Linked DNA regions of Homo sapiens: regions 1, 2, 4, 5, 6 and 7 are each linked to region 3. The links are contacts of gene promoters, found by promoter capture Hi-C in blood cells and fetal thymus (Javierre and others, 2016). All regions are on one chromosome and are shown on one strand. Each heading gives the region's core, a stretch centred on a gene start or on the middle of the fragment in contact. The rest is flanking DNA. Distances are from core to core; before and after follow the strand shown.

The links. The method cuts DNA at HindIII sites, captures the fragments that hold promoters and counts their contacts. A CHiCAGO score of 5 or more calls a contact.
Region 1: a fragment that was not itself captured here is called in contact with the fragment with the promoter of CNTN5 in region 3 in 2 of 17 cell types (M0 macrophages and M1 macrophages); the score reaches 10.0 in M0 macrophages.
Region 2: a contact is called between a fragment that was not itself captured here and the fragment with the promoter of CNTN5 in region 3, in 1 of 17 cell types (endothelial precursors). The highest score is 5.2, in endothelial precursors.
Region 4: a fragment that was not itself captured here is called in contact with the fragment with the promoter of CNTN5 in region 3 in 9 of 17 cell types (M2 macrophages, M0 macrophages, M1 macrophages and 6 more); the score reaches 32.9 in M2 macrophages.
Region 5: a contact is called between a fragment that was not itself captured here and the fragment with the promoter of CNTN5 in region 3, in 1 of 17 cell types (fetal thymus). The highest score is 5.1, in fetal thymus.
Region 6: a contact is called between a fragment that was not itself captured here and the fragment with the promoter of CNTN5 in region 3, in 1 of 17 cell types (fetal thymus). The highest score is 7.1, in fetal thymus.
Region 7: a fragment that was not itself captured here is called in contact with the fragment with the promoter of CNTN5 in region 3 in 16 of 17 cell types (M2 macrophages, M0 macrophages, total CD4 T cells and 13 more); the score reaches 165.5 in M2 macrophages.

The regions. Positions count from the first base shown.
Region 1 is chr11:96,485,608-96,489,404 of GRCh38, reverse strand. The region is part of intron 1 of JRKL-AS1 (JRKL antisense RNA 1); the gene reads left to right. Among named protein-coding and RNA genes, the nearest start is that of JRKL-AS1, 19 kb to the left of the region's middle. RefSeq lists an enhancer at 1,114-1,908. The HindIII fragment of the contact is 476 bases long and covers 1,484-1,959 here.
Region 2 is chr11:96,800,627-96,804,741 of GRCh38, reverse strand. No RefSeq gene overlaps it. Among named protein-coding and RNA genes, the nearest start is that of LINC02737, 290 kb to the right of the region's middle. The HindIII fragment of the contact is 1,548 bases long and covers 1,501-3,048 here.
Region 3 is chr11:99,019,293-99,023,010 of GRCh38, reverse strand. CNTN5 (contactin 5) reads right to left here and starts at 2,062. Exons shown (of 25, transcript NM_014361.4): 1 at 1,741-2,062. The HindIII fragment of the contact is 2,136 bases long and covers 1,597-3,718 here.
Region 4 is chr11:96,441,411-96,445,483 of GRCh38, reverse strand. It overlaps JRKL-AS1 (JRKL antisense RNA 1), which reads left to right. Exons shown (of 5, transcript NR_047481.2): 5 at 2,109-2,203. Among named protein-coding and RNA genes, the nearest start is that of JRKL, 53 kb to the right of the region's middle. The HindIII fragment of the contact is 5,718 bases long and covers 1-4,073 here.
Region 5 is chr11:96,823,958-96,827,943 of GRCh38, reverse strand. No RefSeq gene overlaps it. Among named protein-coding and RNA genes, the nearest start is that of LINC02737, 320 kb to the right of the region's middle. The HindIII fragment of the contact is 1,430 bases long and covers 1,033-2,462 here.
Region 6 is chr11:96,627,580-96,631,426 of GRCh38, reverse strand. No RefSeq gene overlaps it. Among named protein-coding and RNA genes, the nearest start is that of LINC02737, 120 kb to the right of the region's middle. The HindIII fragment of the contact is 561 bases long and covers 1,659-2,219 here.
Region 7 is chr11:96,465,669-96,469,866 of GRCh38, reverse strand. The region is part of intron 1 of JRKL-AS1 (JRKL antisense RNA 1); the gene reads left to right. Among named protein-coding and RNA genes, the nearest start is that of JRKL-AS1, 39 kb to the left of the region's middle. The HindIII fragment of the contact is 6,884 bases long and covers 1-4,198 here.

The DNA of each region.
Region 1 (3,797 bases), core at 472-2,971, 2.5 Mb after region 3:
AGAGTTAGCTCTTCTTGTTGCATTGATCCCTTTACCATTATGTAATGGCCTTGTCTCTTTTAATCTTTGTTGGTTTAAAGTCTGTTTTATCAGAAATTAGGATTGCAACTCCTGCTTTTTTTTGCTTTCCATTTGCTTGGTAAATATTCCACCATCCCTTTATTTTGAGCCTATGTGTGTCTTTGCACGTGAGATGGGTCTCCTGAACACAGCACACTGATGGGTTTTGACTCTTTATCCAATTTGCCAGTCTGTGTCTTTTAATTGGAGCATTTAGCCCATTTACATTTAAGGTAAATATTGTTATGTGTGAATTTGATCCTGTCATTATGATGCTAGCTGGTTATTTTGCCCGTTAGTTGATGCAGTTTCTTCATATTGTCAATGGTCTTTACAATTTGGTATGTTTTTGCAGTGGCTGGTACTGGTTGTTCCTTTCCATGTTTAGTGCGTCCTTCAGGAGCTCTTGTAAGGCAGGCCTGGTGGTGACAAAATCTCTCAGCATTTGCTTGTCTGTAAGGATTTTATTTCTCCTTTGCTTATGAAGCTTAGTTTCGCTGGATATGAAATTCTGGGTTGAAAAATCTTTCCTTTAAGAATGTTGAATATTGTCCCCCACTCTCTTCTGGCTTGTAGGGTTTCTGCCGAGAGATCTGCTGTTAGTCTGATGGGTTTCCCTTTGTGGGTAACCCGACCTTTCTCTCTGGCTGCCCTTAACATTTTTTCCTTCATTTCAACCTTGGTGAAACTGACAATTATGTGTCTTGGGGTTGCTCTTCTCAAGGAGTATCTTTGTGGTGTTCTCTGTATTTCCTGAATTTGAATGTTGGCCTGCCTTCCTAGGTTGGAGAAGTTCTCCTCAATAATATCCTGAAGAGTGTTTTATAACTTGGTTCCATTCTCCCCATCACTTTCAGGTACACCAATCAAATGTAGATTTGGTCTTTTCACATAGTCCTATATTGCTTTGGCTTTGTTCATTCCTTTTATTCTTTTTTCTCTAATCTTGTCTTCTAGCTTTATTTCATTAAGTTGATCTTCAATCTCTGATATCCTTTCTTCTGCTTGATCAACTCAGCTACTGATACTTGTGTATGCTTCATGAAGTTCTCTTGCTGTGTTTTTCAGCTCCATCAGGTCATTTATGTTCTTCTCTAAACTGGTTATTCTAGTTAGCAATTCCTCTAACCTTTTTTCAAGGTTCTTAGCTTCCTCTCATGTGTTAGAACTCTGGTTCTGGTTTCTCCCCATCTTTGTGGATTTGTGTACCTTTGGTCTTTGATGTTGGTGACTTTAGGATAGGGTCTTTGAGTGGACATGCTATTCCTTTCTGTTTGTCAGTTTTCCTTCTAACAGTCAGGCCCCTCTGCTGCAGGTCTGCTCGAGTTTGCTGGAGGTCCACTCCAGACCCTCTTTGCCTGGTTATCACCAGTGGAGCCTGCAGAACATCAAAGATTGCTGCCTGTTCTTTCCTCTGGAAGCTTCATCCCAGAGGGGCACCTGCCAGATGCTAGCCAGAGCTCTCCTGTATGAGGTGTCTCTTGTCCTCTACTGGGAGGTGTCTCCCAGTCAGGAGACTTGGGGATCAGGGACCCACTTGAGGAGGCAGCCTGACCCTTAGCAGAGCTCGAATGCGTGCTGGTCTGCTGCTCTCTTCAGAGCCAGCAGGCAGGGGTGTTTAAGTCTGCTGAAGCTGTGCCCACAGCCACCCCTTCCCCCAGGTGCTCTGTCCCAGGGTCATGGGGGTTTTATCTATAAATCCCTGACTGGGGATGCTGCCTTTTTTTCAGAGCTGCCCTGCCCAGAGAGGAGAAATGTGGCAGTCTGGCCACAGTGGCCTTGCTGAGCTGCAGTGGGCTCCACCCACTTTGAACTTCCCGGAGGCTTTGTTTACACTGTGACGGTAAAACTGCCTACTCAAGCCTCAGCAATGGCAGATACCCCTCCCTCCACCAAGCTTGAGCGTCCCAGGTTGATCTCAGACTGCTGCCGTGCTGGCAGTGAGAATTTCAAGACAGTGGATCTTAGTTTGCTGGGCTCCTTGGGGATGGGAACCGCTGAGCCAGACCACTCGGCTCCCTGGCTTTAGCACCCCTTTCCAGGGGAGTGAACAGTTCTGTCTCGCTGGCATTCCAGGCGCCACTGGGGTATGGGAAAAAAAAAAAAACAACTCCTGCAGCTAGTTCACTGTCTGCCCAAACGGCCACCCAGTTTTGTGCTTGAAACCCAGGGCCCTGGTAGGATAGGCACCAGAGGGAACCTCCTGGTCTGCAGGTTGCGAAGACCGTGGGAAAAGCACAGTATCTGGGCCAGAGTGCACAGTTCCACAGGCTCAGTCCCTCACAGCTTCCCTTGGGGAGGGGAGAAAATTTTCCAACCCCTTGTGCTTTCCAGGTAAAGCAACACCCCACCCTGCTTCGGCTTGCCCCCCATGGGCTGCACCCACTGTCCAATCAGTCCCAATAAGATGAACTGGGTACCTCAGTTGGAAACGCAGAAATCACCTGCCTTCTGTGTTGATCTCACTAGGAGCTGCAGACCAGAGGTGTTGCTATTCAGCCATCTTGCCAGCAATCGGCTTTTGTTTTTTTTGTTTTTTTTTGTTTTTTTGTCGCCCAGAGTGGAGTGCAATGGCATGATCTTGGCTTACTGCAACCTCTGCCTCCCGGGTTCACATGATTCTCCTGCCTCAGCCTCCCAAGTAGCTGGAATTACAAGTGCACACCATCACACCCGGCTAATTTTTTGTATTTTTAGTAGAGGGGGTTTCACTATGTTGACCAGACTGGTCTCGAACTTCTGACCTCGTGTTCTGCCTGCCTTGGCCTCCCAAAGTGCTGGGATTACACGCATGAGCCACCACACCCGGCCATGATTGACCTACTTCTAGGCAATGATGTAAAGAGAAGTCCACTGAAGACTTAGGGTTGGGGTATTTTTCCTTCCACATAAGAAAGAAACATAGAAGAAAATGTTCTATTTTTGCCCCTTCTCTCTTCCTTCCTGCTTGATATGATTCTGTGTTAGAATGTAGTATCTGGAGCTATGGCAGCTATCCTGAGATGATGAGATGAAAAATCTGAGGACAAAATGTCAACACATTGAGAATGCAGTGAGAATAAATGGAAATAACCTAATTTCTTGATGGTGATGTTGGGTGCTTGAAGTATACAGAGAACATCTAACATCAGGCTACTTGTTAAACAAACAAGAAATGTCCTCATGTTTTAGTCACTATTAGAGTATTCTCTTATTTGAAACTGAATCTAAGTAATAGAAGCACAATTATCCTCTAGGTAAGAGTAAATTTCTCCCAGATTTTGAATTTTTTTCTGTGAGTCTTTGTTCTCAATATTGCTGTAGGGTTTCATCTTTTTTCCTTTATCTTCTCAAAGTTTTTAGTAAAAATTTAGAAAAGTCTACTACACTAGGAGCAACTAGAAAAATTCTAGTTTAAATTAAAATTTTATATTCAGATTTTAATGACTTCACTCTCAAAGAGATTTTAAAGTCTCTGGAGTGGGTTTCCCCCTCCCGCCCTCCTCTATTTCCCTTCCTTCTCTATATATGATGACTCAAATAATCATATTGTCTTTCATGTGGCTAGTGTCTTACAAAAAGATGTAATATGCATTAACACATTTAATCTTCAGATCAACTCAACAAATATTTATTGTATAATTAATAATCTCAAGTCCCTGTGCTAAATACTCTGAAGAATAAAAAGATGAGGTAGAGTTCCTGCACCCATGCAGCCTACAAGCTGGTTGAGCTGGCAATACATATCCACCTATCTC
Region 2 (4,115 bases), core at 1,025-3,524, 2.2 Mb after region 3:
CAAAATAAGAGATGAAATAATACTCACCAAAAATACAAGAAATTAAAATAAAACCATTAAAATTATTCCACTGAAGTGTCTAGATACAAGAAAAAGTTATTTTCACATTATAGACGGAATCAGAAAATATATATGGAAATATATTTTAGTCACATGAAAATATGTAACATAATCCTACAAAAAATTGTTTGATCTATGTAAATAAAATAAAGGGAGAGAGAGAAGAGGTTTATACATAAATTAAGTATGCCAAGCACTGCACTGGAATTTCACCTTCAAAATAATTCAGTAAGATAGGTATTATATAACCACTACTGATGTGGGTAGTCAGGCTCTGAGTAACTAACTTGCACAAGGTCATAAAATTTGAAAGTGTTTGAACAAGAATTCAAATCTTGAACTGAAAAATGCCAAGGTCTATGTTGTCTCACAGCATTGTGCTACAGAATTTAAAGTTTTCTCATCGTCTCTTCATATTAAGCTATCCCAATGAACGAGAATTCATTTTATTTTATTTTTTTACTATGTTGGTGGAAAATAACCTCGTTGCTTTTATGAACTTTCCAATCTTTGTGGATGTATTCTGCAGTTAAAATCCTAACATTTTCTTGACCTGTTTTCACATTATAAAACTTTAAGAAATTATTCTAATAATTAAGTGTGTATATTATATTCTTTCGATCCATTACTTCATTGTCCTAGTACCTCTATTCTGGTAGGCATTCAAGAAGGTTTCTGAGATTTTTTTTTTATTCTCTTTATACAACATCTTCTGTTGACATCTTGTATTAATACATAGTTTAGAAATCTTGAGTTTTAGTCTTTAATATAAAAAACAGCTGTATGTTCCTTTTCCCCCCTAACATTTAATGTGGAGTACTCAGACAGGAATCTGGTTTTTGTTCTTCCGTGTTTAAAGTGGACTTATTCTTGTGGGATTCATCTATGCAGTTTGAATATTTTTTGAGATTTCACATAATGGTGTTTTTTTTTTATTTTAAACTTTGCTTAAAATAACATGTACTCTATTTCAAGATTAAAAACTTTATTTAGATTTGGAAAAGTTTTATTAAGTGTTTTTGCATACTAGCTGCAGTGCAAGAAAAGTAAAAGCAAGAGGAAAAGAATAAAAACGAGAAAAATCAAAGACCAAAAGATTTAGAACAAAAATAAGTGATAACTTGTAAGTTCCAGTTCTGCCCCGTTAGTTGTGTGTTTTAGAGAAAGTTGTGTAATTCCTAAACTTTATTTTCCATAGCTATGATGATTATAATCCCTGCTCTATGAAATATGTGAATTAAATAGGAAACCAGATATGACGGTGTCTAGCATACTACCAGGTCTGAATGTCCAACCATTAGTGAAAAGGAGAAGAAACGACATTTTAAATATGACCTATGATGAAGAAAGAATTTTATATTGGGAAATTCAGTATCGTTAGAAGATTGCTGAGAAATCTATGAGAAAAATTATATTAACAACTTGTTTAAAATCCAAGCTTTATTCTGCTGTTTAAGACCGGATCTCATTTTGTTCTCTGAGATTTTATTTGGTGTATGACCATGTTTTACCCTCACAATTCAATTATTATGTAAGCATATTTTAAAAGAATTTCTGCATTTTTTAGGGAACAATAGTTATTTTTTTTCCTGTGAAATATAAACTCAAGTGTCCTTCAAGCCTCAAACATAGTGCAATGATTTGGGTCCCACTGTCAATCTCAATTGTCTATACCTATAGGAGGCAAAGCTGTTTTCATTCAAAACAACAGGAGTACAAATATACCAATCCCTGATATCTGGTGCTGTCATTTTACATTACTGCAGTCTGAATGCACTGTCATTTAAAAGCACCAACTAAATTGATCTCTATTTTTTTTTATAATTCAAAAAAATTATACTAACAGGGTTTGGATCCATGAAGAATTATAGTTCATAATGACCAATTTTAACATGTTTTACAATCCATCAAAATGGGAATAATACCTTAGGGTACAATTTATTTTTCTTTATCATAAAATTCTGCCATAGTTACAATGGTCATATACATTTAAAGAAATGAGTCCCCTGCAGAGGTAATGAAAGGAAACGCATTCTATCTTTCTGATGTTTTATTCTGGCTTTTTTGACAGCTGAAGATACCGAAGTGCAATCAAATGCCTTTAGCACAGTAATGAAAAACATAAGCATTAAGCAAATTTGTCCACATGAAATAATTGACAGTGGTACAAAGTGATTCAATTCAGTAGTTTATAAAATATAAGAATCTGATTCAAATTAATTTGGAATGGCAACAATGAGAAACATATGCTACATGGCAAATGAAGGAAATGGATTCATGTGCTTTGCCTATATTCATTCCCATTTAAAAGAAATAAAAGCATAAAGCATGTTATGATTTTCAAAGAATGTTCTTAGTTCTTCTTCTCTGGTATTCTATAGAAGTATATAAACGATCCTGCTCTCTGAGAACAAACAACCTCATATATAAGAAGCAGGAGGCCAAAAAAGAAAGAAAATACAAAGACACAGAATATTGATTGACTGAACCACTAGATTTAAATCAGCCTTTCCTGAACTTTCTTTCATTATAATTCAACACAAATGCTTATTTTTGCAAAAAGAAAAAGTTATTTGAATGTAGGTGTGTTTATTTTAAAAGTTTGGTGTTTTTCTTTGAATAGCAATTTTTAATATACTGATATAACTCAGAATGAAGGTTTAAAAAACAATTTTTAAATGATACACAGAATAACTACAGTATGCTAAGAAAATTAATTTTTTTAAGCCTAGGACTTTCAACAGGATGAAAACAACATAAGTTTGTTTGTACCATGGGATTTTAGGCACAATGAATATACATAGAATTTTATATATGTGCAGGATTATGTGCTGTTGATCAAGATAACTAATTTCTCTGTCTGCCAAGAATTATACTCACTGTAAAAGCAGAAGAAATTTCTCAACCAAAATTGATAAAACACTATAAATGATTTCTGCTCATTTCAACAAGATAAAAGAAAAAGGCATAAATATTGAACATGAAGCTTGAAAATATTTTAAAAGTCAAATTAATACTTTATTTGCAACATAAAATAAAACACCTGGTTATTTCATTGTTCACTGTTGAGACAATAGCAAGTGGCTGATATGGAAAATTTCAGTGAGTTCTTCTAGTAGCCCATCTGTCTGCAGTGTAGCTATTACACAGCTTTTCTTTATTGGCATTTTATGTCAATGTCAAATATGTTTGAGGACTATTTAAGGTTTCATTATTACAAAGTTTCCCAATATTTCTTTGATTTAAAATCTTCTATCATTTGCATGATGCATTTATATGTCAGTAAGATCCTCATTAATTTCATTATTTGACCTAGGGGTATAACAGATGGTTTTTGTTGTTTGTATTTATTTACTTGCTTTCCTGATAGTTTCTTTTAGAAATTATTTAACAAAAATTAAATATTTTAAATGCTTGCTTATTATTACACACATCAGATTTTTTTTTTTTTTTTTTTTGAGACGGAGTCTCGCTCTGTTGCCCAGGCTGGAGTGCTACACCCACCAGAATTTTTAACATAGCTTTTTACTTCAGCAGTTTATAAGTCATGAACAAAACACAAGGAAACATGAACTAATGTTTACTGAATAAAAATTTCTAAAAGTTAGAGATTTTATATGCATTGTAATTCATCACAGTAATACAGGACAGTTTTTATTTTATTCCTGATTCATAGATGATGAAACTGAGTATCAGAGAGGTTAAGAAACTTGCCCAGGATTGTATACAAGAAAAGGTAAGAACCAAGGCAATAGCCCAGATCTATCTAGCTTTAAAGATTACATACTTAATGTAGGCAATACCTTAGTCGATGAAAGAAGAAAAGCCATATGATTTTTTATTTCAATAGGTACAAAAATATTTAATAAAAATTAATAGCTATTTTCAATTGTTTTAAGAAGAACTGTTAGGAAGACTAGAAATAGATTAAAATTTTCACAACCTGATAATGTACATTTATCATAAGCCTACAAAAAACATTACATCAAATGGTAATGAATTCTTTAAAATCAGGAACAAAATAAGGACTTCTATCACCACTTCTATTAAACTTT
Region 3 (3,718 bases), core at 813-3,312:
CAAAGTCCGGCATTTAGTTAATCTATGGGATTATATTTTTATATAACTTTTAAGAATCTAACTTTCTGTTCAGTTGTCTATGGAATCAGAAAGAAATTAAAATTAGCAGTTTTTCTCCTCCTTTCTCAATTTTCAGAAGTTTTAAATAATTTAAAGGATACACCAATTCCTAAGCAAAAACACTGGCACTTGTAATAATCATTTCACTGACTTTCTATTTTCAGATAGGCTTTAATATCATTCCCTCACACTCCAGCTATTTGTCAAATTCTATTCTTTATATTGAATTTCCCTTTTTATAACTTTAACTCTGATTTTTTTTGCCTTTTTCCCTTTAATGGACTTAGATGATCTTTTTATGTAATATCTTTAATTTGTTATCATTAGTTTTATATGACATATTCTTACTCATACCTCTTTTCGATTAGAGTCAGAGTAAACTTATGCCTGTTAAGTTTAAGACTCAGCATACTAGTCCCCACTTAACTTAGAATAATTTGAGCATGAAATAGGAGAATATGCAAGCAACCATGAGAATTGCTCAAAATTGACTACAGGCATTTTCAAAAACAGTTAATGACCTAATCATTATTTTTTAAAATACTGAGAGTCACAATATTAATCATAATGAACTCCTTTAAGCTCCCTGTAATGGTCATAAGTACTTCTGTAATTCTGTTGCAATTCAACAGTAATCGATGATATCTGCATTAATTTTTAAATTTGACTATTTGTCTATAATTTTAAATGCTAGTATTCTAATGAACATCTACTTCTTTCATCCTTATTTCCACAGTCGTAATTGAGAATCAAAGTAGAAGTATTGACCCTCTAAATGATTTTCTCTTTTAAATTAAGAAACAAATGAATGAAATGTAGGTAAGGCATTGAACATACAACAGTTTAAAAGTTTTTTGCTTCTCACCTGCATTTAAATTACCACATGAAATTGTATTTTTCTTGGGAGAACAGTTCTAAGATTTAAAAGTAATATAATTCTAAAATATTTAGTGGATTCTGGTTCTTTCGCAAATAAATATAGTTGAAACAACTTATTGTTCAGGTCATCAGAGTAATTCTCAGGTTTGTGTATGTGCAAATTGATATTCTCTTCCGTATATCTCCCTACAAAACATGGTAAGGATGTCTGAACATAATTTTTTAATCTATCACAATCCTATACAACCTTTAGAAAAAAGCTCAGCATAATCCAAGATACAGTTTTTCTCAGTCTCACGAACTTTGTAGAACTCCACTTATAGAGCATCCCTACTGAATTTTAACAAGTTATTGCAATGCCAGATGCCCAATTATTTAGTCTCGGAAACTCATTGCTCAAACATAAGGCATACATTCAGTACCTGAGAACGGCATCCTATTTTCCAAACATTTAGTTTCTTTTGTAGAAACATCCTCACTTTATCCTGGCATTTATTGCCTTACAATTTGCAATTTGCGTGTAGGAATTGCTTACTCTTATTTTGGGTGGCATTAGGAGATATACAAATAGGTTATATTTACTCTTGTTTCAACTTTTTGCCATAAAATCCCAGCAGGAAATAAAGTCGTGTTTTGTTTCCTTTATTTAAAAAAGCTTCATCTTACAGTTTTTACATTCTGGCAACATGGCAAGAAAGGATGGCTTTGCAGAACAGAGTGTGTCAAAAATCCTAAGTGGCTGGGAGATGAAGTGCACAATCACAGAACGCAGTCACTGGCAAAGGAATGTCAGCCACTTACCAATAAGATGCCAGACTCCACTGTCCTTCCTCTGTGACTCTCAATTCCTGTCTCCCATCCTCCTGCCCATCAGCACAGTTCAGAGAGAGCGGTTCCTCGGGTCCTTTGCAGCCTGTGGCAGAGGCGAATTGCGGAGTTCTTAATCATTCAGAGGGAATCCTCCAGCTTGCCCTGCCTCTCGCAGCAGACGGGACCCAGGTAACGCATCCTCTCCGCCCCGAGCTTTAATGGCACTTTGGCTGCCGCCTTCTCGCAGTTCCGCTCCCCCACGCCGTAGTTGGTTATATTGGGAAGTAGGTGCGGCGCCTCCTGCGGCTGGTGTGTTTGGGGCTCGCGTGTTTTCCTCCAATGCGTCCGCGCGCCCTGCGCCCCGCGCCTCTGACTGGCTGTGTCCTCCCGGGGCGGCCCCTCGCCCCTCCCCGGCCGCCCGCGCTGTCACCGGCGCCCGCGTCCAGCGCCTCACTGCCTCTTGCTGCAAAGGTTCATTGAGCATGTCCCTGGGCTTAACGAACTGTGCGCCTCCCGGAGGGTGCTCTGTGTTTCTCCACTCGTCTCACTAGTCAACCGGCATTTTCCTTCCCTGCTAAGTACAGAGGACCTGCCCCCCTTCCCCGAGCGTTTCTGCTCTGCAACCCCTCCGTATTTAACATTCATAGATTACAAAGCAAACGTGCTGGCTGGAGTCGGCACGGGAGATCCAGGCGAGAGTCCCTTCCTCCGCTCCTGTCTTCACTCTGATTCCTGTAGTCCCCGGCTCACACCTCTGACAGCAGCAGCACAGACTGACGCGTTCACTTAGGTCGGTTTGAGAGTGGACTTTTTCACTTTGCAGAATTTTCTTAAGTCCTGAATGGGAAGCACTTCTCTTTTGTTTCTGCACTTACGCGTTTCATCTAAGGACTATCAGGCTCTGCCTGTTTATATTTCTCTTTGATTTGGGGTGTTGACTCAGTTCTAAAAAAAAGCGAAGGAATGGTCTCAGCAACCTTTTTTTCGGAATTTTTATATTACAATGGCTGTAATTGGAAAAATAACACAGGTAGTAAATCCACAGTGTGGCAGCTTTAGTGCCATTGTTCTGCCAGTCCTCCTCTCTACTTTTTTTTTTTTTTTCCTCTCAGTCTTTGAGTCGTTTTCCAATTCCCACGATTGGGCTGATGGTAATTGGGTATTTGTTAAATAAATTATATAACATTTCCTTTGCAATATATTTCCATAGAGAATGTGGTTTGCACCTGTATTTAATGGAAAGGAAATCCCACGTACTGCTTTCTATCTCTGTGTCTGTATAAGAAACTGCATGGGAGTCTAGGGTCGCACCCCGTGTCCGCTGGTGTCCGTTTTTCATGTGTGTTTGAGAGCAGCCTGACCCTGGACTGACGCTGATTCTTCTGCTCACTGAATCCCCCGATGGGGTCTGACTGGCTCTAATTGGCAAGGAGAGTACAGTGCCAGGCAGCCTGTAGCTGGAAGCCGTCTACCACTAGCCCTGTGTTCTTTCTCTTGCAGTTTTTCTGGTAATTAAAATTAGTCTTTTCCTGTTTCTTGGCTGCTTCTCATTCATCCAATGATGTACAAACACCCAGTCTCTGCTTTTAATCGCTATCCTCAGGATCTAGGCTGATTGCTTGTTCTGTAGCAAAGACAAATTTGTGTGCATTTAATACTTCTCCACTCTTCCATACTTTTTATATTCGTGTTCCTGCTTTCCAGTAACTAGGTTATCTTCTTTATGTGTTAACTGAGGGATCGTTGTGGAGATTCCCCTTCTGTGGCTTTTTCTCTGCCCCACTGGCTCTTCTCCTCTGTCAGGCTGTCGGTTCACAGAGAGAACTACCAGGACTTTTATAACCACATTAAATACATCACAAAATAAATTCAAAGTGTAGGAGCTCTAACGCATTCTTTTTATTGTTCGATGAGGTTTTTGCCTTTAAAAGTGTATAATTGAGCACATGCAGCCTGAAAGAGGGATCGG
Region 4 (4,073 bases), core at 1,262-3,761, 2.6 Mb after region 3:
CTCACACACACACACACACAAAAAGTTTATCTCTAATTGATGTCTCTGATTTAAACTATTGCCTCCATTTTCTTCTTTCCTAATGAAGGCAGTTTACACCATTTAAATTTTTAAAATAATAAAAATAATTTTTAAATATTATGAATAATTTTTATGTTTATATATAAAATCCATTCATACAATTACCAGAAATGAAATATATTAGAAAGCCTTTTCAGAACTCAAAGGAAACAGGATATATAAAAATATAACAGCATTGTTCATAAAGGTAAAAGAAATCCCATCTAATTACAAAATTTGTCAGAATCAAGGACTTTTTAAAACTATAAATAAACATTTCAATTCTGAAATGTTGGCTTTCACAGCACAAATAGCTAAAACAATGTGGTTATACTCAAAATATTAAATATACTCAAGTTTTTAATTAAAGTTCTTACTGACAGGGATTTCAAAATGGTAAAAGGAAAAAAACCCTCTCAAATCTAAAAATGTATATATAAATGCATTTGCTAAGTGAAATATGTATGTCTCCCCTCCTATCCATTGTTTTAAAGGCAGGGATGAAAACAGAAGTATTAAACTCAGGCCTAGAGCTATGGGGAGAAGCCTGACTACTGTTGCTTAGAGATAGAAACTTCAAAGGCAAGGGTCCAGATTCCGTGATCATAATAAGATTTCCGACATTTCTTACAAGCTAATGAGGCACCTCCAGATCAAACCCACCAGCAACATGGTAGTATGTTAAAGAAGTTTAATTGCCAGAGAAAATTCAAACCTGGTCAAGAAGGTCCTGTGATTGCTCAGCTCCTAAAGCAATTCCTAGACTAATATAAACTTGCCAACAGACCTCATTCAGCTAAAGCAGTGAAGCCCTCATGTAATTAGGTACAACTCTTGACTACAAATGACAGTATACTGCTTAAGCAATAAGAGAATATTTTGAACTCATTCAGCTGAAAATTACATAAGAAACACTGAATTGTGACCCAGCTGGATGAAATGCACAAATGCTGGCATTGAAGCTCTCTCACTCTCTCCACGTAGCAGGCACAGGGTCTCCAGGGCCCCAAGACTCACAACCCACCAACCTTACAGCTGCAGTCATAAGAGAACATATTCTCCAAAAACCCCTGAAAAGGAGTTCTGAGGAGGAGTCTGACCCTCTGGTTTAGGTTCATGTGCCCATCCCTGTAGCTGGGAGAAGAAAGAGAAGAATGGGAGGTTTGGTAGGCAGAAGGGGTGTAGCTATGTCTCAAATATATGGAATGTGTTTCCTTTAGAGAGGCGAGATTTTGTGATCAGGAGAGGACTGTATGCTGGGAGACAAAATAAATAGAGGTCTTCAACACTTCAGAAGGTGAATCCTCATTGATGCCACTCTTGGGAATTGCCACTGGAAATCACAGACCAGGAAGATACTCCTGGCAAGCAGAACCTGAACAAAAATCAAGTCTATCCTAATACAGGAAATCAGACCACTACTAGGGCAAAGAGATCTTTGACATACCTATCTAGCAAATGTAATACAACCTGCAGGAGAGCAACTTCACTGTATTCATTCCCTTCTATAAAACAGAAAAAAAAATCATAGTTAAAAATGAGTGAGGGCAAATTCTGCAATATCATAGGTAAGTTTATAAGCAACTGGATTTATTGGGAAAACATACAAATCAAGGATTAAATTTAAGAGGCATATAGTCTGCATTGTCTTATTATCACAAAGAGAGGTCTAAAAATCAGTTCAGCATACTGATGGACACACCCCAGGTCCCTGCCCCCAGGAGAGGGATCCTGACTCTCCACTGTCATAACATGCAATCATGATAAATTTCAGATATGGGGTATAAATACAAAGGATGTAGACACCAAGTTGTCTGAGTATAAATGCCAACATGGCTAGGAGCCGTCTGAGAATGCTAGCTGCCATCACCTGATAATTTCTGAGTGGTGGGATGCTGCTGCTGCTGCCATTCCTGCTGCTGGAAAGGGGTTCCTGTTACAGTGGATAATTGGGTTCAGGCATAGCCCTTCCCTCTGGGAGAGGGCCAGCCTCTGCATCTAACTTGCTGAATAACCGTTTTCCTTCCAACATTCAATTTGGCATCTAGCCTTCAGTTGCAGGGTCAAGAAGAGCCACATTCAAACCTGACTATATGAAATAATTATCACCCAGAGATATTGGACTTGGAATAGAATAGAGAAACCAAATGCTATTTCTACGCCATCTCCATTTAGAGAGAGTGTAAGTAGGGGCTTTTGCTCTTATTCTTGGTGTTGAATGTGGGATCATTTGTAATGTTACTTGGGATGTTATTAGAACTGAGACGGAAATGCAGGTTTGCTGTAGGGGGGTCACAAACAGTGATATGCTGGGCAGCCCAGGCATAGCAAATTGTGGGCAGTGGCAGCTATTGGTTTTGGCTGTCCCACAGGGTTCCAGTGGGGATTTTCCCCATCCTCATCCTCTGGATAAGAGGACCAAGGGAAGGCCTAGTTATTCCTTTTTTCTGTAGATACAGTGATTGGGTGACTCAGAGGCTGATGTGTAGCCTAAGCAACTCCAGTTAGAATAATTCCCTGAAATTAACTGCAAGGTATATCTTGTCACATCCCTGCTCAGAACTTTATAGTGACTTCCCATCAGAGTCAAATCCAAACTCCTTACCATAGCCGATGAGAACCCGCATGATCTAGCCCCAGTTTCCACTGTCTTTTCTGCTCCTCATCACTTGCCACCTGGCACCTTGTCAACACACTCCGGCCATACTGTTTTTCTCTTAGTTCCTATAACATGCCAGGCTCTTTCCCACTTCAAGGATGTTTTCTTTGCCTCAAATTTTCTTCCCTTTGACTCTTTTTCTTTTTTGTAACTTTTTTAAAAATATAATTTCAAATTTAGAGAAAAGTTTAAAGAATAGTAAAATGAATTCCTGTATTCCTCTTGGATATTGTAATTGTGAATGTTAAATTGTGTGTGTAGATTCTTGCTCCTATTTTAATCCTCTTGAGATTGTTAATGTTTTTGTTTTAGCAAGCAAAAAACCTGGGTATATTCAGACTGTACTGTTTCTCACCTTTTGTGAGCCCTGATTTTAATCTTCATTTAGCTCGAAATCATCACTATGTTGGTCTACATTTGTCCTATGAATGTGTTATTTAGGGGTTAGGCTGAGACTTCTATAAGCAGTTCCAGTCTCAGTTCAGTTTTCAAAGCCTTAGCTATGCTGAATTGGGCCTGTTCTGTGCATGTATAGTTTATGGGTTAGACTGAGACTTTGTGCAGGTTTGCATGCAGTTAGGGAATCCTTTTCTCTGGATCCCTCCTCTCTGGGATTCTCCACACACCGCCATACTCCCAGACTCAGAAATGCTCCTTTTCCTTATACTCCGTTCAGAAAAAATATGGTTTCTATTAGAGTTTCAGCCATTCACTCATGTCAGCACTAAGAAGATATTATCCCATTGTTACCTGGTTTCTATTGTTTCTATTGAGAAGTTATCTGTTATTCCATTGGTTACATCTTTACAGGTAATATTCTTTTTTTTCCTGGCTGCTTTCAAGATTTTCCTTTAGCATTGCACTATAATATATTTAGGTGTGGGTATCTTTTTATTTATATTTCTTGGGATTCATTAAGCATCTTGAATTTGCAAACTGATGTCTTTAATCATTTCAGAAAATTCTCAGCATTATTTCTTCAAATTCTGCTGCATCCTCTCTCTGCTTTCTATCTGAGACTCCAATTAAACAAGGGTTAGACCATCTTACTCTATATGTCTCTTACTCTCCAGATTTTTTAATCCCTCTGTGGATTTTTTTTACAATTAAATAAAATTGGCAATGAATATTTTCTTCTGACATGTTCCAGTTCACCAATTTTCTCTTTGGTTATGCATAACTGAGCTAAATACCTTAGCAATTTTTGTTATGTTTTTCTTTTAGAAATAGAAACTCTAATTCTTTTTCAATCTGAAATTATGTGTTTTATCATTTTAAGTAACTTGCTAGAATTTTTAGATTTGGATTTTGATTTCTAAACCATTGTAAAATACCGATTTTACAAAGGATGTGT
Region 5 (3,986 bases), core at 498-2,997, 2.2 Mb after region 3:
CTTTTTAAAGTTTTATTTATTAATAGCTCAATGGTATCTACATATATTTGAAAAAGTATATGTGTATATGGGTGTATGTGAAAGAAAAGCGTGTCTATTCAATCTACAGATTATGCTTGTTCTACCTAGAAATTCTCTGACTACGTTGAATATTTCTTCCTTCTCCTTCTCAGGTTTCTGGATACCATACTCAGAGCCAGAGCAACTGTCATGGAGGACACAGCCCAACTTTAAAAATTGAAACTTTGGGCAGATAAAAATTACCAGGACATTAACTGAAAAGTCATTATATAATAGTATGCTTTTCTTACCAAAATACCTAAGTATTCAAACTTTTCATACATTATATTTTGATTTGTCATTATCATGCCCTCAAGATAGACACTATTTACCCTCATCTTTTAATGTGGATACTGCGATATGGAGAAGTTAAGTGATTTGCTTCAGGCTTCCAGAAGAGTTAGAATTCCAAATCTCCTGGCTGGCAGTTTCTTGTCTGATACATGAGACAGCACTGCCCCTCTAAGGCAGCTGAATGTATACAGGAATCAAGCTTAGAGGCAGGATTTACCGTTATTTTCAGGCAAGGTTTATAAGAAGCTGAACAGTCTCTAAGCAGCTAAGAATTCAACTGCTGAGTCATTTTTTTTTCCCAACCATTCAAACAGTTTAACATGCCTTCCTCTCCTTAAATCAGAACACAGACTTCTAATTCCAGGATGATGAAAGCCTGTCACTTGACGGTGAGGGGTGCGTTTGATGAATATCACAAGGTAATAGTGCATATCTCTTACTGATGAGATCAAATGAAATTGTAGATTTAAGATGTAAGTGTGGCATAGAAAAAAGAAGATTAAATCACATTCAGAAGAAAACAACATTTGGGAGAAGACATCTAGAGACAAAAATTGTCAAAAGTTTATTGTAAGGCTATGAAAAATGAGCTTAAGAAAAGCAAAACAGATTATTACAATATATTGAAGGTTATTGTAATGTAACTGTAAACAGGTTATTACAATATACCATGAAGCTTACTCATTTGTAATGGGTTGAATTATGTCCCCCCAAAATCCATATGTTGAATCCCTAAGCCCAGTATTTCAAAATGTGACTATGTGTTTAGAGATAGGACCTTTAAAATGGCAATTAACTTAAAATGAGGCTCTTGGTTGGGCCCTAATCCAGTCTGACTGGAGTTCTTATAAGAAGAGGAGCTCTGTACATACAGACAGTCTACAGGCGAATGCGTGCACAGAGAGATGATTTTGTGAAGAAGGAGCAGAGAGCAGTGATCTGCAAGACAAGGAGAGAGACCAGAGGAAACTCACACTGACAACACCTTGACCTTGGACTTCAAGTCTCTAAAATTGTGAGAAAATAAGTTTCTGTTATGTAAGCCACCTAGTGCATGGTATTTTCTTATGGCAGCCTTAGTAAAATGAGACACCACCGATTTTGTGGATTAATCCAGAAAGGTCAAGGAATGTGCCTAAGACCACATAATGGTACACTTGTCCTTGGTCCACTGCTGCCCTTCTGGGGTCTTTTCCTGACCCACTCACCTGCAGCACAGGGTGTCAGTGCCTTACCCATTGGCTCCTGTGATTTGCCTCTACACAGGATCACTGTCACCTATGACTGTCTGAGGCTCATGTTTCTGACTGAAGGTTCCCGCTCAGCCTTTATACAGGCTAGGCACACACAGAGTGCTGGACAGTTGATGCCCAAAAAAAGGCTCTACATACATAATGGACAGGAATTTGGTGAATACATATCCCAGCTTCCTTACTCCTTGGTCAGGATAACTCTGGGCCTCTTTCTATGCTGTCTCCCAGAGTTCTCCAGTGAGGCTAACCTCCGACTGCTCACAGTAGTAACTGGTTTGACAATGTACCTCTTTAGGGGGTTCATTTCCTCTCCATTATATTTTCCCACTCCTCTCCCAATAATTCCTTGGATTACCTCCCAAATAAACTACTTCCACTCAAATTATTGCTTGAGATCAGCTTCTAAACCCAAACTAAAATTCTGTCTCCATGTTCCTCTCATTTAAATCATCATTCCAGTTTATAGATTTGAGATTAGGCTACAGATTATTTGAGAAAGACCTAAAAAGTTTCTAAAGCCTTTTTTAAGACAGATTAAAAAAAAATAAGAAAAGTGCATGCCTCCCAACTTTGTAATAGTTCTAGAATTTAAATTAGTTTTCAAAGTGTCCACCCTGAAATCACTTCTCTTTGAAGACCTTTTACTCTTGCTCTATAAATATGCTCATATGTGTCCCCTTAAAAAATTAACACTTCCTTGACTCTGGTTTCCTCTAGTTTCTGTTGAAGTCACTGAAATGTTTCTGGCAAAAAGACCCTGTAAGAACACTGCCATATCTAATGAACACCTTTCAATTATTACCTTACATAGAAGTTTTAATGCAGTCTAATTTTAAATTTTTTATAGCATAAGCTTTATAACATCTTTTCTTACCCCAATATCAGAAAACCATTCTCTTATATTTTCTGCTCAAGGGATTAAGGTTTGATTTTACATTTAGATCCTATTCTACTTGGAATTTATCATTAAAAGACCCTCATCTATATGATATATTTTATCACTCACTTCTGAAATCCTTCTACACCAGCTTCTTTGACTCTTCTCATCAACTGACCCTTTTAGATTTCTAATCATTCATTAGTGGTTGGTTTATACATTCCTCCTCTTGTGCATACTCTGGGAATTCCCTCAGAGCCTGCCTTCTGACCAGTCATTTTTTATTACACATTCTTCATACTAATCATATCCCCAGCTTTATATTTATATTCTTGTTTTGTATTTATGCACTTCTTACTGAACCTTAAAATCAACAAATTCAAAAATTAATCATATTTTTTATTCTACCAGTGAAACATCCTGTTTTCCCGGTATTCTATTCTACTCTGATTAATTGTACTATCATCTATCCAACTGCCCATTTCAGAAATCCAAGGGTAGTCCTATATTCTCTTAATTATTGCCTCAACTCACATTTCAATAAATTAATCATCAAGTTCCAATAATTTTAATTCCCAAATATTTATCACATCATTTCTCCTTTCTTGGTCCCACCTACATCTTTACAAACTGGTCAATACATTCTTCATATTTTACCTAGTTAATTTAGATACCTTCTTTGTACTGTACTGTACCACTCAAACCCATACTCCCCAAGGCCCCCAGAGAGGTGTGACAGCAACAGAAATTACTACTGCTCACCAATATTTCGAGGTCTTGTCTCTTTTTGCATGTAGAAAAACTTCAACCTTTTCAGATCTCTTACACTTAAGTAGGACCATATGACTTCTTTGAGCAATGGTTTTTGTAGGGAAGCAATTATTTACAGGTGGAGGTAATGAAAAGTCTGTATGTGACTTTCCGTTCTCTATTCCCCTGCATCATCCACCAAAAAGATGGTGCAAACCGGTTAGCCAGGGTTTGAGTGAATATTTAGGTCTGAAGACCCTACTTCTTCCAGCCAAATTGAAGATTTGTAGGTTAATTTGTTATCTCAACTTAAAAGCCTACCATTACTGATACAATGTCTAAAACAAAATTTTGACTATGTCACATGCCTAAATAAATCCTCCAATAGTTTGCTTACCATTCTTGAACTATGGTCCAATAATTTTACACGGTAAAATAAGGACTTTTATAAGTTATCCTCCACTCATCTTCATCTCATGCTCAGTGCTTTCACTTTATGCTCTAATAATATACTAAGTGCTTATTCTTTTTGTGTATTCATATCTTCACACACTTTTTTTTCTGAAACAGAGTCTCGCTCTGTCACCCATGCTGGAGTCTCACTCTATCACCCATGCCTGATCACAGTGGTGTGATCATGGCTCACCGCAGCCTTGACCTCCTGGGCTTAGGTGATCTTCCCACCTCAGCCTTTGGGGCAGCTAGGACTACCGGCGCCCACCAACACATCAGCTAATTTTTGTTGAGGTGAG
Region 6 (3,847 bases), core at 690-3,189, 2.4 Mb after region 3:
ATAATTTATTCACTAAATGAATTAACACCATCATCAATTTTCTCATCCCTGAGACCAAAAGAACTGCAAAGATTTATAGGATTTATTGCCTATTGCCAGAACTGAATTACTAACTTCTATTACCACCTCTCCTTTTGAAGCCACAGCTAAGGAGTCCATTTCCAAACCCCTTAACTGAGATTCCCCTCCCATGTTTGCATTTCAAAACCTCAAATCCTCTCTATCATTTCCCCTGACTCTTGGACTCTACAGTTACTCATTGAGTTTTTCCATTTTTTTATGCATAAAGGAAAAGGACATGCTTTAGATGTCGCCATCCAAAAATACAATGGAAGCCAAAGTCCTGTTGGATTCTTTAGCCTCACTTTTGACCCTGTGGCTCAGACATTTTCACTTTGCTTTAGTTGCTGTTGCTACCAAATTGGTCAAGATCAATACTAACTTAATTCTGAGTCATGCATTCAACCTTTATGTGCCCCAAGTAGTTAAGACCCTACTACTAACTGAGAATATTCAACACTCTTCCACTTCCATCCTCACGTCCTGTGAGATCCTACTACCTTATTCCTCTCATATTGCTACTTATCACTCTCTACACCTCAGTCCTCTGCTCTTCTTCCCCTACTATCTGAGGAAGAACCTGATGACTGTATCACTCTCACCCAAACTTCACCAGAACTCCCAAATACTCAGATGTCACCTCCTTTGTGCACAGTTCTTACCTCAGGCATACAAATGAGGAGTTTTATGCAAAATATACTATCCCAGATTTTGAAACATTTGTTGAGTTCAAACCCCTACCTAAAGTTAAATCAGCCAAGCAGTTAAACTGATAGCCCTCGCCAGACTTGCATACTAGCACAAGATAAGAAAGCTAACATTTGCACAGGTAGCAGATATTCAATGGAACTCAAGTAGCTAACCTCTTAGAAGCCTTGCTACCCAAGGAATTAGCTACCCTCAAAGCTGAAGCTCACACTAGACAGTCTCCTGATGCTAAAGGAAACCCGTGGGGAGACAAATACGTCAAGAGAGCCACTTTGCAAGAAAATTCTTCCTCAGTTGCCTGCACTACTCCCCTTGCTCAACCTCCTTTAGAGATAGAAACTCTAATTAAGGAACTTCTGGGACAATAATTGCTAGCATCTAAGGCTGAGAAAGCTCATTGAAAACAAGCTACATGTTTTGTACATGTGAAGACACCCAGATGGCTACTTTTCATTCCTTGGTTTCATATCCAAAATTTAATCCACAACATCAGCAAAGCCCACAGCAAAGAATATCTTTAAAATATCCTTCAGAAATATTGGTAGGGTCACATCAGCTTCATGGTAAGCAAATAACCTCAACTTTCTCAATTTGCCACAAAAAAAAAAAAATACAATCCTGGCAAAAACCTAAAGGTAAGGCAAAGATGAGAGACAGTTTCCTCTGTTCCCTTCCTCATTGGCAAATGGATTTTATTCCACTTTTAAAGTATTATAAATATGAATAGTTTCTACCATAGTCTGCATGTTTTCAGGATGATAAGAAGATTTTACCTGCACATAGGATACTGCCACCACTATATTTAAGTTGCTACTAGAAATAATTTTCCCCACTTGGAGAATCCCTTTTTTCCTGTCTATCAATAGAGGAAATCCCTTCACTGGTAAGCTTACTCAGGATATTCAAACACTACTTCTACTCTCATAAGAACTCACTATTCTTACTACCTTCAAACCTCTAGAAAGATATAATGGTCCAATAGTGTTTTTAACTTCATAGTAGCGAACTCTTTGAGGAACCTAACCTGTCTTTGCCCAAAGTCTCTCCTTTAGACCTAATGATCCTTTGAACTCCTCACCACCCAGTCAACTTTATCCTCCTGTGAAATTATTACTAGCAGGCCAATCAATGAGATATTACTCTGGACATTGCTTTGGAATGAAGCAGACATTGCAATCTGCTACAATATATTATCCCTAAATACTGCCAAGCAATTGTTAAGTGCACTTACACTTTCCCCCAACAGGTCAAGTTGTTTCTCCCAAGATATACCACCACAGCTTAAACATCATTTTCAGATGGGAGACCTAGTCTTCTGGAAGACACTACTGAAAGACCGATCCTGAACCCAAGTATAAGAGGCATTATGCTGTCTCCTAACTATCAATACCACTGCAAAGCTACAAGTAGTACAAGCTGGGGTTCATGTTTCGCAATTTTAAAACTAAGCTTTATTACAAATGGAAATCCACACCAACAGAATACCATAAAGAGAGGATCTTTTAAAAGTCCCCAGAAGAGGATGACAACATGAGATACATTGCATTCCCAAGAACTTGGCACCAAGCAGATGACAACTCAAAGTGGTCAGCTTCTACCCAAGACACTGGATCAAGATCCCTTAGGATTCTTATACTTAATTTCTTCTGTAAACCTCCTTTGTAACCTACTCATCATCCTTCTTTTATTTTTCTTATTGAGCTATAATTCACCATGAAGTTCACCTTTTTAAAGTATATGATTCAGTGAGCTTTAGTATATTCACAAGGTTGTGCAACCATCATGACAATCTAATTTCAGAATATTTTTATTAGCTTAGAAAAAACTCCATTCCCATTAGCAGTTACTCCCCACTCCCCTCACCCCACCCCACCCAGTCTCTGGCAACTACTGATATAATTTTTGTCTCTATAGATTTTCCTATTCTGGCCAATTCATATAAATTGAATTATACAATATGTGGCATTTTGTGTCTGGCTTCCTTTATATGTTTTCAAGGTCCATCCATGTTGTAGCATGAATCAGCACTTCATTCCTTTTTATAAATGAGTAATGTTTCATTTTATGGACATACATATTGGATATCCATTTGTCAGTCATGGATATTTGGTTTGTTTCCACTTTTGAGCTATTAGGAATAATGTCAGTATGAAAATTTGTGTATATGTTTTTGTATCAATATATGTTTTTAATTCTTCTGGATAGGGACTTATAAGCAGCACCTCTGGATCATATGGTCATTCTAAGTTTAACTTTTTGAGGATTTGTCGAATGGTTTTCGAAAGCAGAGAGACCATTTAACATAGCTGCCAGCGATGTAAAAAGGTTCCAAATTCTCCACATCCTTGCCAATACTTGTTACCTGTCTTTTAAAATTATAGTTATCCTACTAGGTGTGAGGTTGTATATCATTGTGCCTTTCATTTGCATTTTCCTAATAACTAATAATATTGTATGACTTTTCATGTACTTATTGGTTGCTTCTATATTTTTTAGAGACTAACTTCTTTTAATTTTCTATCATTCATTGGTTTCAAAACTTCCTTGATTAATGTCCTTTCCTTTTCCTTTTGGCTTTCCCTACTGTTTCCTTTTTCTATATTCTTCATTTACCTACAAATATTTAGGACCTCAAAATCATCTGAATGGTATCCGCAGAACTGATTGGTCTTGTAATCTTTCCTGTAAGTGTTGGTTTTGTTGTCCCTTTTCTCTTGGTTCCACCATCTTTCCCAAAATTCCTCTTCTCATCCTTAAAACCTCTACTGCTATTAATTTAGCTGTTTTCCCATACACAATGTTGGGAAACTCTTCTTATAGTTTATTTAGATTAAATGAAGATCTAAATTCAATCTGGACCACTTTTAGAAGAGGTGGTGTTTGCTTCTCCCGCAATTTTACAGATGACCTATTTCTCAATTCTTGTTTCTGCAAATACACCTTTCATGCTGCCAACTCTGATTACAATTACTTGTAATATTCATTATTTTTTTCACAGAAGATATAACTTTATATCAAACAACTCCACCATGGGGTGTTGCCAACAGAAGGTACTAAAACATTACATATGGAAAACGCC
Region 7 (4,198 bases), core at 276-2,775, 2.6 Mb after region 3:
GTTTTTTCAATCCAAGGCAATCAACATCTTTTGTAGGTAAAACGGCAGCACTCCAAGAAGCCACACAAGCTCTCCAATAACTGCTGTGTCTGTAAGTCATAGGATAAGGTAGGCAGCATGGAAAAGACTGCTGACCCCACACCCACTGCCAGCCACAATCAAACATCTAATATGAGGGAGAGTTATTTACAGGCACTAAAATCTACTTAGCACTATTGTCATATACCAAAGTCTACAAGCGAAATAATTCCCAAGGGCATCTGGGCCAGCTGTCACCCTGACTTCACAATGAATGGAGTTTGTTTTGACAGCTATCTGCTGCCATTTTTGCCTCTATATAACTTTTCTAATATCTTCCCTCCTCTTCTTTCTACTCCACGAATTAGCTTTTATTGAGCACCCATTTTGTATGTGCATGATGCTGTGGCAGGGACACAGATAAAAAAGCCTTGGGTCTTGACCTCAATACATCCATAGTACACAAATAGATAATGAGAGTATAAAGTGAGAAGTATCTAGAAGAATAAAACTAAAGTGGGAAGGAGGGAGCTTAATTCTGCCCAGGGAATCAATCAGAGATCATAGAGGTAGAGACATTTGAAATGGGCATGAAAGGATCTATAAGTATTTATGTCTGAGAGAATGGAAAAAGCAACCCAGGCAAAAGTCTCGTAATAGGAGATATGTGCGGGGCATTGACCATGTTCTATGTGGGATTTGGTAAAGAAAATGGCATGATGTGAGGCAGGAAAACTAGTCTGCGGGAAGATTCCCAAATCCCTAAGCATTCGTCCTAGCAACCATTGACATGGTCTGTCCTTTCATTCACCCCCATCTGCTCAGTGCCCAGCACGTGCCTGATGTGGCATAAACCTGGGGTTGTAGCTGTGTACAGCTCTTTATAGTACCCTCACCCAGATCTGCCTTATACCTTAACACTTCTAACTCCAGAAAGATCCCCCTCTGTGGACTCTGAGCCCTCCAAGGAATTACTAACTAAAGCATTAGAAAAGTTGAGGCCAGGCGTGGTGGCTCACGCATGTAATCCCAATACTTTGGGAGGCCAAGGCAGGCAGATCACTTGAGGTCAGGAGTTCAAGACCACCCTGGCCAACATTGTGAAACCCCATCTCTACTAAAAGTAAAAAAAAAAAAAAAAAAAAAAAAAAGCTGGGCATGGGGCATGGTAGTGGGCATCTGTAATCCCAGCTACTTGGGAGGCTGAGGCAGGAGAATCACTTGACCCAGGAGGTGGAGGTTGCTGTAGCCGAGATCACGCCACTACACTCCAGCCTGGGTGACAGAGTAAGACCCTGTCTCAAAAAAACAAAAAGAAAGAAAAAATAAAAGAAAAGTTGAATGCCTACTCTTCCAGTGGGTTTTTGCATTTTAGAAGAAGACATATTGACTCAAATGGAAAAATTGGCATGGAAAAAATTTTGAGCAGAAGAACCATTCTGCCCTTCATAGCTTACCCTTAGGTGTCACTCCTCATTCTCTCTGCTTATCCTTATTTCTGAATTAGAAGAGCAGAGGTATACCTGCTTATTTGCACCCCACTCCTGATCTTTGATTTCTCTCCACTAGAAGTCACGTCAGTTCTCACAGGAATTCAAGAGGTTTCAATCTCACCCCTGCTACACATTCACGTGACAGATGAGGTTCACATATGGAACACATTTTCCAAGTGCAGCCTATATAATGGCCTGAAACACAAACAAAATCAACCTGAGATTTTGTAGGGTTACTAGGATGCTACATATACTAGGATACTCCATTACCCTCCCACATAAGAAAGCATGCTGGAATGAAAGTAAGCCTGGGGTTACAATAGGGATAGTCTTGAATCCATTCTAATTTGTAAAGGAAAAATTGTAAGCAAATGTTGTTACTTCACTACTAGTATCACATCACATGAGGCATGCTTCTAAATGATCCTGTTCCTCTAGTATGACACATTACCAAGCTGGAAAGTCACTGGCAAAGGTTCATACATATAATCTGACAGTTCTCAGTAGTACACTGTATGTCAGTAATGCATCTATAGTTTTCAAAAGTGTCCAGTTCACTCTTAAGGCCTACATTACAAATAGTTTGATTCGACTCATTAATGTGCTATACATACACCACAAAGTCCTACTAAACAAAACCAATAACCTTACGGAATTGTCTTTCTATTTTCTAATTTCTAATGTTCTAACTTCCTGTGTGTTGAGGTTTCAACATCAGCAAGTGTTTGCTTCATTTTAATAAAGAAAAATACTTTTAATTTTATTTGGCATATAAGCTAAGGTTTTTTGGAATACTATAGCTTAAATGATTATTTTTTAAATAACTAATAAAATTTTTATGGGCACTACATCCCTTGAACAAAACTGCAAAGGAAATTTCAAACAAGATCTTGAGTCCTTCATCAGCGAGCTTGCCATGAAGGAAACATTCTAAAATCTCAGTGGCTTGTAGCAGCAAATATTTGTTTACTACTCACATGTCTGCATCTGTGGAATGGATGGGGTACTAGAGCTTTGCTCAACTCTGTACTACATTTCCTTTCATACCGGGACCTCAGGGAAAGATGCTTACTTTTGTGGCAGAGGCTAACAAGAAGCAATCACTTTTGAAGTTTCTGTGCAAATATAATGTTTGTCTCATTGGCTCACATACTGTTGGCCAAAAAAAAAAAAAAAAAAAAAAGTCACATGGAGTAGCCCAACATCCGTGAAGCAAGAAAATACATTTTTCCCATAGCAGGAGAGGGAAATATACATTTGCAAAGAATAATACAATCGGTCAAAGAACACCTTCTCTGGATATTCACTTTCCTTCCTTTCTCACTCAAAGTTACTCGCTCCCATTAAATATACCTTGAAAATTGCATCCGCTTACGGCATCAGGTGCAAAGTTGAAGATCTTGTGGTACTCTCTAAGTCAGGAATAAAATAACTCATACACACTCACATAAAATGGTGAAACAGGGACAGAACAACTACAATGAAACCTCCATTCATGAAGAGGAAGGCAGACAGACACTTAGCCATCAGTAATACACAGTAATTTTGAAATTCTGCTGAACAAGCATCATGAGGCCTCCTAACCTAGAGCAGGGAATATTTCTTGAGTAGCCTCTGTTCAGCTCTTGAGGAGGTAGAAGTGGAGATACCCTCAGTCCATCATTCTCTGTGTCTTGAATCCACCCTCTGGAACATCTTCTCTTTTTGGTTATTCTTGTTGGATGCACCTGAGGAGAGCATTGGAGACAATGCCATTCTAGGGGAAGGAGCAGCTTTCTCAGCCTGCCTCTTGCCCAAGAAAATTGGGGCACAAATCATCTCAAACAGTTACAGTCTCTTTGAATTGAAGATGACAGTGCTTTTGGCAGTACAACTCTTTCAAAGATATAGCTATTTATCTATGTGATTACATTTCTGTGTGCCAGTAGCTGCTACCACAATTATTTTGTAGATGTATGTTTTTCTTTAGACTTAATTAAAGATATTGTGTGCTTATCTAGTTATGGCAGAACTGTGCCCTTAGGATTTGTGGCCACACCCCTAATTTTAGCTGTACCTATGTCTTAATCAGTGTTTTTGGCTCAAAACATTTCTTAATTTTATTTTTTATCAATTGATGATTGAAAACAGTTTCACTTTTCAACTCTGAAATCCCAAAATTTGGGACTCTGTGTTTTCTATTTCACTCCTTCCTACAAACAGGCCAGTTATTTTCTGTATTTATTTCCTTTTAAAAATATCTTATCAAATGTAGCTAATAACCAACTCACACTAGAAATATTCCTTTTAAATACCCCGCCAGCCAAAGCTACAATTTCATGAGGTATACTCTCTGCCTCCAAACTTATCACCATTGCAGAAAAACTATATTACATCGATCACCACTTTTTTTCAATTTCCTTTACAGTTTTCTTACCACCTACTGCTTTATCCTGAAGCAATTGTGACACCATTTTTATTTTCATAAAGTAGTTCCCCACTCGTCATATCAATTTCTATATGAGTCAGTTTGCTGCACAAAAAGCAACCCTAAAACTCTAGTGGCTTACAACAGTAAACAGGTTTCTTGCCCAAGTAACATGCCAGCGAGTGTCACTTGGCTCTGAAAACCTTGGCTCTGTTCCATAGAGCTTCACATTCAGGGACCCAGGCTGACAGGCAGCCACTCATGCATTCTCATAACACAT